Linked DNA regions of Homo sapiens: region 2 is linked to region 1. The links are contacts of gene promoters, found by promoter capture Hi-C in blood cells and fetal thymus (Javierre and others, 2016). All regions are on one chromosome and are shown on one strand. The core of a region is centred on a gene start or on the middle of the fragment in contact, and the rest is flanking DNA. Distances in the headings are between cores, read along the strand shown. Region 1 holds the start of ODF4 (outer dense fiber of sperm tails 4). Region 2 has its middle 17 kb from the start of MFSD6L.

Region 1 (5,096 bases), core at 526-3,025:
TTGGGGTTAGGGCAGAGGAACTAGGAAGAGAAAAGGGGACTGTCCTAGTCCATTTTGTGTTGCTATAACAGAATACCTGAGGGTGAATAATTTATAAAGAAAAAAGGGCTATTTGGCTCACAATTCTGATGGCCAGAAAGCTCAAGATTGGGCATCTGTTGAGGACGTCAGGCTGCTTTCACTTATGGTGGAGGCAAGGGGGAGCTGGCTTGTGCAGAGATCACAAGGTAAGGGAGGAGCTGAAACTGTGCCCCAAACAGTTAAATAAACCAGTGATTAACAGACATTTTCGAGTTTACAGGATGGCAGCTAAGAAACAGCTTGCTGAAATGCTGAAAAATCCCTTTGCTTATAACAGGACTGGCTGAAATCAGTGGGAACCCGTATGGCTGACAGCAATCCGCACAGAACGAGCTTGCTGATGTCACAGCCTGAATTTCCACCTGCTGTTTCATACTAACGCCACCAAATTTGCACATGCAACCCACGAAGAACCTTGGAGATAACCAGACATGATTAAGGACTTTCTAGACTTCTCCTTTCTTTCCACCAATCACCCGCTAATCCCAGAATCCTCCCCCTAAACCTTTTCTAATAAAAGTACTGCCTTAAGACCAGCAAAGAGAGACAGATTTGAGCTGGATTCCCGTATCCTCGTGGGTCAGCTCACAATAAAGCTTTCCTTTTCTCAAAACCTAGTGCCCTAGTATTGGAGTATTGGCTTCTATGCACATCTGGCAGCGAGCACTTTTGCTTGGTAACAGCGCCAGGTTCTTTTTAACAACCAGCTATTGCGGGGAGCTAATGGAGTGAGGTCTCAGGGAAGGCGTTAATCCAATCACAAGGCATCTGCCCCCATGACCCAAACACCACCCACTAGGCCCTCTCACCTCCCATCACCACCACACTGGGGAGCAAATTTCAGCATGAGGTTTGGTGAAGACAAATTAACCATATGCAGACCACAGGAGGGCCTCTCACATACCATTGCTCATATGTAAAGGGAGGCAGAAGCTGGAGGGAGGTGTCAGATCCACAGTTCTGAGCTGTGGCCTGAGAAACAGGATTTCCGGAAAGAGTTAGAGCTGGAGCCACAGGCCAGGCAAGGTGGCTCACACCTGTAATCCCAGTGCTTTGGGAGGCCAAGTGGGGAGGATCTCATGAGGCCAGGAGTTTTTTTTTTTTTTTTTTGAGGCTGAGTTTCACTCTTGTTGCCCAGGCTGGAGTGCAATGGTGCGATCTCGGCTCACCGCAACCTCCGCCTCCCAGGTTCAAGCAATTCTCCTGCCTCAGCCTCCTGAGTAGCTGGGACTACAGGCATGTGCTACCACGCCCAGCTAATTTTGTATTTTTAGTAGAGATGGGGTTTCTCCATGTTGGTCAAGATGGTCTCGAACTCCCGACCTCAGGTGATCCACCCACCTCGGCCTCCCAAAGTGCAGTGATTACAGGCGTGAGCCACCGTGCCTGGCAGAGGCCAGGAGTTTGAGACCAGGCTGGGTAACATATCAAGACCCCATCTCTACAAACAATTGAAAAATTAGCCAGGCATGCTGGCACAATCCTGTAATCCCAGCTACTCAGGAGGCTGAGGTGGGAGGATCACTTGAACCCAGGAGTTCAAGGTTGCAGTGAGCCAAGGTTGTGCCACTGCATCCCAGCCTGGGCAATAGAGGGAGACCCTGTCTCTCTCTCTAAAAAAAAAAAAAAAAAAAAAAAAAATTGCTGAAGACTTGGCTTCCCTCCCCCATCTCACTGTGCCCCAGGAAAATTCCGTGGCAGTTAGGGGACCTGGCCTGCTGAATGGGTTGGGGCCTTCTCTTGGATCAAGAGTCTCTTATTTGATCGAGGTCTGTTATTAGACTTCCTCATTCTTTCTCAGACCTCAGGCTGCATGGTGGCAGCTGATGAAAATATCCAAAAGATGAGAAGAGACAATTGAGTCTGGTGAGGGAAAGGGGAGACAGAGGGTGAAGTGGTGCTCAAGATGGATGCAGAGTACTCTGGGAATGAGTTCCCCAGGTCAGAAGGAGAAAGAGACCAACATCAGAGACCTGGAAAGGAAAGGAAGAGTGGGGAGGCAGGATGGGGCACAGGTGAGCTGGGACAAGATGGGAGACTGCTGTCCTCCACCCTCTCCCTCAGTAGTAACAGGTCCTTGGGCCAGCGCCAGAACTCTCCGCTGCCCTTTCAATGGAGAATCACACACAGCTTCCGCTGGATGGCCCAGGTGTTGGCCTCTGAGCTCAGCCTGGTTGCCTTTATCCTACTATTGGTCGTGGCCTTCTCCAAGAAATGGCTGGACCTCTCTAGGAGCCTCTTCTACCAGCGCTGGCCCGTGGATGTCAGCAACAGAATCCACACATCAGCCCACGTTATGTCCATGGGGCTCCTGCACTTTTACAAATCCAGGAGCTGTTCTGACTTAGAGAATGGGAAAGGTGAGCCCCTCCACCCCCCATCCCAGCCCAGGCCGCCAGCCTGTCTTGGCCTCTGTATCTGCACCCTGGATGTATTCTTGTTCCCTCTTTCTGGTCATCTTTACTTTTTGGCCTGCAAGATGGTTCCACTGGCACTGAGACCTCCGATGATCGTTTCTCATCCTGTAGCCTGGCTAAATAGATTTGATTGGTGCAATGGAAAATGTCACTGCTTTTGATAAAACCCAGAGCCAAATCTGTGCTTCTAAGAATGCTGTGAGAGAGTTGGGCATGGTGCTGCACACCTGTAGTCTCAGCTATCCAGGAGGCTGAGGTGGGAGGATTGCTTGGGCCCAAGAATTTGAGTCCAGCCTGGGCAATTTAGTGAGACTCCTGTCTCAAAAAAAAAAAAAAAAAAATCAGGCTGGGCACTGCGTCTCACACCTGTAATCCCAGCACTTTGGGAGGCCAAAGCAGGCAGATCACCTAAGGTTGGGAGATCGAGACCATCCTGGCTAACATAGTGAAACCCCGTCTCTACTAAAAATACAAAAAATTAGCCAGGCGTGGTGGCACATGCCCGTAATCCCAGCTACTCTGGAGACTGAGGCAGGAGAATTGCTTGAACCCGGGAGGTGGAGGTTGCGGTGAGCCGAGACCGCACCATTGCACTCCAGCCTGGGCAACAAGAGTAAAACTCTGTCTCAAAAAAAAAAAAAAGTTACGAGGGGCATGGACTCAGCACAAGAGAATCATTCATTAATCGCCTAATTTACCAGGGACAAGAGCCCCAGTGAGATGGGGGTTTCCTTAGTCTTGTGTACCCAGAGCTTTGAGAGGACTCCTTGCAATGTCCCCTCTCAGGCCCTGATCCCACACATTCTCCTTTCCTTCTGCCTCAGGCCTTGCTTTTCTGGATCATTTTCCTTTTTCCACATCTGGCTTCTGTGTTCCTTCTTTCCCTGAATTCTTGCAGCTGCTTCATTCCTCATCCTTGTTTTTTTCTGTTTGTTTCGCTGATTTTTTTAGAGACAAGGTCTCACTCTGTCACCCAGGCTGGAGTACAGTGGTGCAATCATAGCTCACTGCAGCCTCGAACTTCCAGGCTCAAGGGATCCTCCTGCTTTAACTTCCGGAGAAGCTCAGACTACAGGCCGTGGCCACCACACCTGGTTCTTATTGTTGTTAGTCTCTGGTTATGCTGTTCCCTCACCCCTCAGGAATTTGGAGTTCTTTCCCTGCTCCTGGGGAAAACCAGAGCTTTTGACCCTTATTTCCATTTTTTCACTCTCCTTAGCATGAAAAAAATCACACAGCTATTATTTTCTGAAAGTATTATGTCCTTATCATATGAATATGAAAATATTCATATAATGAATTATGAAAGCATTATGAAAATATTATGTCCTTATTATAATAAATTTGGGGAAACAAAAGCTATCCTTTATTGTACACTTACTCCATTTGTTCAATTTAGTCCTTAGTCAATCCTAAGGGATAGGGATAATTATCCCTATTTTAGAGATGAGAAAATTGGGACTCAGAGAGATTAAGTACCTTGCTCAGGGTCATAAAGCTATTTAGATTGAACCAAATGACATGCTAATATTTGACTGCTTTTCACCTACAAAAGGAGAATTTCACATGGATCAACCTAATAATGGCAGGGTTGGAATTGCAACTCAGGTGTGCCTGGCTCTAAAACTCACATAGGCGCCTTGCTCTACGGAGTTACTCAAAGACAGCCAGGCTTTTTATTTTTATTTATTTATTTATTTGAGACAGAGTCTTGCTTTGTTGCCCAGGCTGGAATGCAGTTGCGGTCTCAGGTCACTGCAACCTCTGCCTCCCGGTTTCAAGCGATTATCCTGCCTCAGCCTCCCAAGTAGATGGGATTACAGGCGCCCACCACCATGCCCAGCTAATTTTTGTATTTTTAGTAGAGACGGAGTTTCACCATGTTGGCCAGGCTGGTTTTGAACTCCTGACCTCAGATGATCCGCCTGCCTCGGCCTCCCAAAGTGCCTCGGCTCACGGATTACAGGCGTGAGCCACCGCATCCGGCCAAACATCACTGATTTTTAAAATTTATTTAATTAGGATTAGGTGTGTATAAACAGTGAAAATTCAAAGAATACAAAAGATTGTATACTGAAGTGAGTCTGTTATCTCTTAGTATCCAGTCTCCCTCCCTAGTTTCTCCTGTTTCTTTCCAGAGACACTCTATTCAGAGACAAGCATCTATTTTTATTTTTATTTTGAGACAGTGTCTCACTCCGTCACCCAGGATGGACTGCAGTGGTGTGATTGTAGTTTATTGCACTGCAGCCTCAAACTGCTGGGCCCAAGTGATCCTCCCACCTTGAAGCTCCCAAGTAGCTGGCACCACAGATGCCACCATGCCTGGCTACTTTTTTTTTTTTAATTTGTAGAGACCAGGGTCTCCCTCTGTTGCCCAGGCTGGTCTCCAACTCCTGGGCTCAAGTGATTCTCCTGCCTCCACCTCCCAAAGTGTTGGGATTACCGGTGTGAGCCATTGTGCCCAGTCTATCACCTATCACCATTTTAAATGAACACACAATAACACAATGTATGGGGATAGTATAATTTATTTTACAAATCTCTTCTAAATCAAGGAGCTTATTGGACATTTTTTTTTTTTTTTGAGATGGAGTC
Region 2 (5,726 bases), core at 2,540-5,039, 440 kb after region 1:
CAGCCTGGGCAACAAGAGCAAAACTCTGTCTCAAAAAAAAAAAAAAAATCAGAAAGTATATTAATATACAATCACCACAGGAATAAACTAGAGAAGGAAGAAAACCACATGATCTTAATAGATCCAGTAAATGCTTAATAAAGTTTATGATGAGTGTTATGAAAAACCAGGAATAAAAAGGAACTTCTTTAATTTAATAAAGCCTTCAGCAAACATCATACTGAAGCTTTAGATGTAGCCTGGCATGGTGCTTTTAATCCGAGCACTTTGGGAGGCTGAGGCAGGAGGATTGCTTGATGCCAGGAATTTCTACAAAAATTAAACAATAAAAACATTAGCTGGTCATGGTGGCACCTATAGTTCCAGCTACTTGGAAGACTCGGGTGGGAGGATCACTTGAGCTTGGGAGTTCAAGACGCCATGAGCTATGATCATGTCATTGCACTCCTGCCTAGGCAACAGAGTGAGACCCTGTCTCTAAAAATCAAATACACAAACAAACAGACAAAGACTTTAGACAGATTCTTTTTAAGGTTGAGAACACAAAAATGGTTACTCTACCACTACTATTCAACATGGCATTGGAATTCCTTGCTAACACACCAAGACCATGAAAACCACCACCACTGCCACCACCAATAACAACAAGAGGGTCAAGTGCTAGCAGGGTAAAGGCAAAATTGATTATTTGCAGATGAAATGTTTATTTACATAGTAAGCACAACAGAATTAAGAGATAGAGAGTCAGAACTAAAAACAGAGTTCAGCAAGATGGCTGGAGATGATGCCCAGCATACAGAAACTGATAGGGTTTGTTTGCACTGTCAATGACCAATTAGAAAATATAAAAATATACAAAATGATCTTTTACAATAGCATAAAAAACTGTCAAGTACTTACGACCTTATATAATGAAACTACATAAGATCTTTGTGGAGCAAAATTTAAAACTATTAAAGGACATAAAGAAGTTTTGAGGCCGGGCGCAGTGGCTCACGCCTGTAATCCCAGCACTTTGGGAGGCCAAGGCGGGTGGATCACAAGGTCAGGAGATTGAGACCATCCTGACTAACATGGTGAAACCCCATCTCTACTACAAATACAAAAAATTAGCCGGGCGTGGTGGCAGGTGCCTGTAGTCCCAGCTACTCTAGAGGCTGAGGCAGGAGAATGGCTTGAACCCGGGAGGTGGAGCTTGCAGTGAGCCAAGATGGCGCCACTGCACTCCAGCCTGGGTGACAGAGCGAGACTCCGTCTCAAAAAAGAAAATAATAATAATAATAATAATAATAAATAGAAATACATACTATATTCATAGATAAATGGCTTAACAATGTAAGGATGCCAAATCCCTCCAAATTAATGTACGAATTCAATGCAGTTCCAATAAAATTTCCAGAATTTTTTTGGGGGAAAGTGAAACACTTACTGTAAAATTTATAAGGGAGAATAAAGCCTAAAAAAGAAGAGTAAAGAGGAAAGACTCACCTTACCAAATATTGAGACATTACAAAGCCAAGTGCTAACTGTGATATTAGTGTGATATTAGTGCAGGGACAAATAGATTAATAAAACTAGAGAACTCAAAAGCAGACTTAAGTATAAAGATGTAGTGCCAGAAATCATAGAGGAAGAGTGGATTATTTAGTCTATAGCATTTTGAAAACTGGCTAAGTGGAGAAATATAAAGGTGGGTCCCTATCTTAAGTCTATTCAAAAGAAATTCCAAATGAATTAAAGACCTAAAATGAGAGTTTAAAATTAAAAGCTAATATGGAAAATGTAGTATCTTTTTAACTTGGAAGTGGGGGGGGTAGCAAGAGAGATTCTTATTTTATTTTATTTTTCTCCCTAGAATCCTTGTAGCAAGAGAGATTCTTAAGATCCTCAAGATAAATTGTAATGGGAAAATAAAAAACTTTGATTACATCAAAATAAGATTTTCTGTTCAAAAAAATATACCAAAGTTAACAAATGAGTGACAGACTGGGCAAAGATATTTCCGAAATGAAAATCAGCAAAGGATTAATATCTAGATTATACAACACACTTCTGCAAAACCACATGAAAAAAGACAAGAAACAGAACAAAAACTGGGCAAAGGATATTGTGGAAATATGAGTTTTAAGCTTCAAACACTTTGATTTGACTTTGGTTAAAATTGAGTTGGAACCAAAGGTCACGATCACAACTAGAAAACCCTCAGAGGTTAACACTTTTGAAAATGCAGAACTTTTAGTTTGTGGTCTGGCATGTTAAGAAACTTGGAAGTAACCACTCTGTCCTAACAAGTAAAAAGCTGAAAAAACTGGAAAATCAACAACTCTTCTTAGATCTGTGAGACAAGTGATGTCACAGGATAAACCAGTGCTCCCAAGATTGGAGAGACAGAGAGGTGAATACAGAGAATCAAAACATACGGAAGCAGAAACTCACAAGTAGAAACCGGCATTGTACTTGATGAGTTGCTGGAGGCTCGGCATGGACAAGTCTGAGAGATAAATATTCCAGGGGTACCCAGGCATAAGGGGGTCCCTACACTCTGGTGAATTTTACCTCCTGGAGCTCTACCAGGTTCTCACAGTGAATAATTTGAGAAAATTTCCCTCATGCTTCCATCCTGGGGATGGGAAAAGAAGCTATTTGGAAATACCAATGCATTCCATTCTTTTCAACAAAGCCTTCCTCTAGGAGAAACTATTTAACCAGTCTAACCTGCTGGGTTTTTATCAGAGCGTAATTAACTTAGGGGAAGGAAAATATCCAATTCCAACCAGCTGTAGCTTCCACATGGAGGAAGGGAAATACTCAACTCTAATTTCCTCCAACCTTCCATGTGGGAGAAGGAAAACCCTAATTCCAGTTCACTCTAACCATCCTAGTTTACCTAAGGGGAGAGGGGAGCAACTGAGAAGCACGTCTGAAGTTCACAGTCTAGGGGCATAGGCTTACTAAAAGACTGAGGCCTACTCATAGGACTATAGAATGCTCTTCTTCCCCCACACCTTACCACCACATTACTAAAGGCTTATGAACAGAAGTTTCTTTTACCCAGTACATTATGTCTGGGGAAAACAAATTACAGGGCATACTAAAAGGCAAAAACAAAATATAGAGACAGAGAAAGCATCAGAATCTGACTCATGTGACAGGGATGTTGGAATTATCAGATCAGGAATTTAACCCAAATATAATTAATATGCTAAGCGTTCTAATGGATAAAGCAGATAACATGCAAGAACAGATGGGCAATTTAAACAAAGAGATAGAAATTCTAAGACAGAACCAAAAACATACACTAGGGATCAAAAACACTGTAATAGAAATAAAGACCACCCAGATAGGCTCATTAGTATACTGGACACAGCTGAGGAAAGAAACGCTGAGCTTGAGGATATCTCAAAAGAAACTTCCAAAACTGAAAAGCAAAGTGCAAGGCCGGGTGCGGTGGCTCACGCCTGTAGTCCCAGCACTTTGGGAGGCTGAGGTGGGTGGATCACGAGGTCAGGAGTTCCAGACCAGCCTGGCCAAGATGGTGAAACCCTGTCTCTACTAAAAATACAAAAATTAGCTGGGCGTGCTGGCAGGTGCCTGTAATCACAGCTACTTGGGAGGCTTGAGGCAGGAGAATCATTTGAACCCGGGCAGCAGAGGTTGCAGTGAGCCAAGATTGCACCACTGCACTCCAGCCTGGGTGAAAGAGCGAGACCGCATCTCAAAAAAAAAAAAAAAAAAAAAAAGCAAAGTGCAAAGAGACTAAAAAAGAAAAACCAAACAGAGCATCCTAGGACTGTGGGATAGCTACAAAAGCTATTCATATAAATACATGTAATGAGAATACAGGAGAAGAAAAAAAGAAAAGAACAGAGGAAACATTTGAAACCTTTTAAAGGCTGAATGATATTCCTTTGTATGTATATACCACACTTTTTATCCATTCATCTGTTGATAGGCACTTGGGTTACTTCCACATTTTGGCTACTGTGAATAATCCTGCTATGAACATGCATGTACAAATATCTCTTCAAGACCTTGCCTTCCATTCTTTTGGGTATATATTCAGGAATGGGAATGCTAGATCATATGGTAATTCTATTTTTAATTTTTTTTAGCAAGAACCCTACAGTTTTCTATAGTGGTTGCACTATTTTACTTTCCCATCAACAGTTCATAGTGTTCTAATTTCTCCATCCTTGTCAACACTTATTATTATTATTATTATTTTTTGAGACACAGTTTCATTCCGTCACCCAGGCTGGAGTGCAGTGGTCCAATCTCTGCTCACTGCAAACTCTGCCTCCTAGGTTCAAGTGATTCTGCTGCCTCAGCCTCCTGAGTAGCTGGGATTACAGGTGTGTGCCACCAGGCCCAGCTAATTTTTGTATTATTAGTAAAGACTGGGTTTCACCATGTTGGCCAGGTGAACTCCTGACCTCAAGGGATCAGCCCAACTTGGCCTCCCAAAGTGCTGGGATTACAAGCCAGCCACAGTGCCTGGCCTGTTTTTTTTTTGTTGTTGTTGTTCGTTTTTTGTTTGTTTTTCATAGCAGCCATCCTAATGAGTGTGAGAGATGGTATCTCATTGTGGTTTTGGTTTGCATGTCCCTAATGATTAGTGATGTTGGGCATCTTTTCATGAGCTTGCTGGTCTTTTGTATATTTTCTTTAGAGAAATGTCTATTTAAGTACTTTGCCCATTTAAAAATCAGGTTGTTTGTTTTTTTGTTGTTGAGTTTTAAGAGTTCTTCATATATTCTGCATATTAACACCTTATCAGATGTATGATTTGCTAATATTTTCTCCCATTCCATAGGTTGCCTCTTCACTTCTGTTGATTTTGTCCTTTGATGCTAGACCTTTGTCATCCACATCTTTGTCATCCACATCTGAACCCCATCTCTCGTTTCCATTGGTGGTAGTCGTGGTGGTGGTGGGCCTCAGTATGACTGCAGTAATGGTACCTGGTGCGTCTTCTTTCCAAGACTGCCCTTACTTAGTTTCTTTTGTTTGCAATGAGACAAAGATTTCTGAGCACCAAATGACAAAGAAGAGTTAAGTTTTTAAAAGCAATTGTTTTCTTCTTGAAATGTTTCTTTAGTTCCTGTTCAAGACAATGCTAAGCAAAATTCAGATATCACCACACAACCTCTGGTCTTCTGTGGAAGGCAAGACTTCTTCAAATATCCAAACACCTTGAGCCCCTGAGTTGGTCTGACTCGCTAGTCCCAGGGACAGACACAGTGAGGTTTATTTGCTGCTGACAGCCAAGCTCCAAGGCAAGATGGGACAGCTATTGTCATGGGGGGAGACATTCAGATCCCTCTTATGACTTGCCATAAAAATGATGGGCCTCTGGTGGGATCCATTCCCAACTCTCTTACCTCATTTCAGGTAGGTTCAGTGGTGACATCCAATCATAGCTCTCTTACCTAACTCACCTCTCCAAGGGCAAGCTTCTCACTATTCTCTAATCAAAATTTAGAAAACCTGCCAGTACAACCTTGGAGAAGAGGGGCTTTAGCCAAAAGCAGGTGCTATATTCTCTCCTTCCTGGAAGTGTCATCTCTTTTCTGGGCTAAGAGCACACAGATTTTGATGTAATTTGCCAAGAACAATAGGAAGAAGCACTGTTTCTGGATGCCACATGCTTCCTGAAAGAGGAAAATTGTAACATGTTGATATGATAGTGGAGGGTCTTGGAATTTTCTTGGAATCTTCTCATCTCT

The links. The method cuts DNA at HindIII sites, captures the fragments that hold promoters and counts their contacts. A CHiCAGO score of 5 or more calls a contact.
Region 2: a fragment that was not itself captured here is called in contact with the fragment with the promoter of ODF4 in region 1 in 1 of 17 cell types (erythroblasts); the score reaches 5.3 in erythroblasts.

The regions. Positions count from the first base shown.
Region 1 is chr17:8,338,065-8,343,160 of GRCh38, forward strand. It overlaps ODF4 (outer dense fiber of sperm tails 4), which reads left to right and starts at 1,776. Exons shown (of 3, transcript NM_153007.5): 1 at 1,776-2,441. The coding sequence starts at 1,988. It overlaps LOC124903916 (a long non-coding RNA gene), which reads left to right. Exons shown (of 2, transcript XR_007065607.1): 1 at 1-227; 2 at 359-694. The HindIII fragment of the contact is 6,182 bases long and covers 676-5,096 here.
Region 2 is chr17:8,779,680-8,785,405 of GRCh38, forward strand. No RefSeq gene overlaps it. Among named protein-coding and RNA genes, the nearest start is that of MFSD6L, 17 kb to the right of the region's middle. The HindIII fragment of the contact is 3,324 bases long and covers 2,128-5,451 here.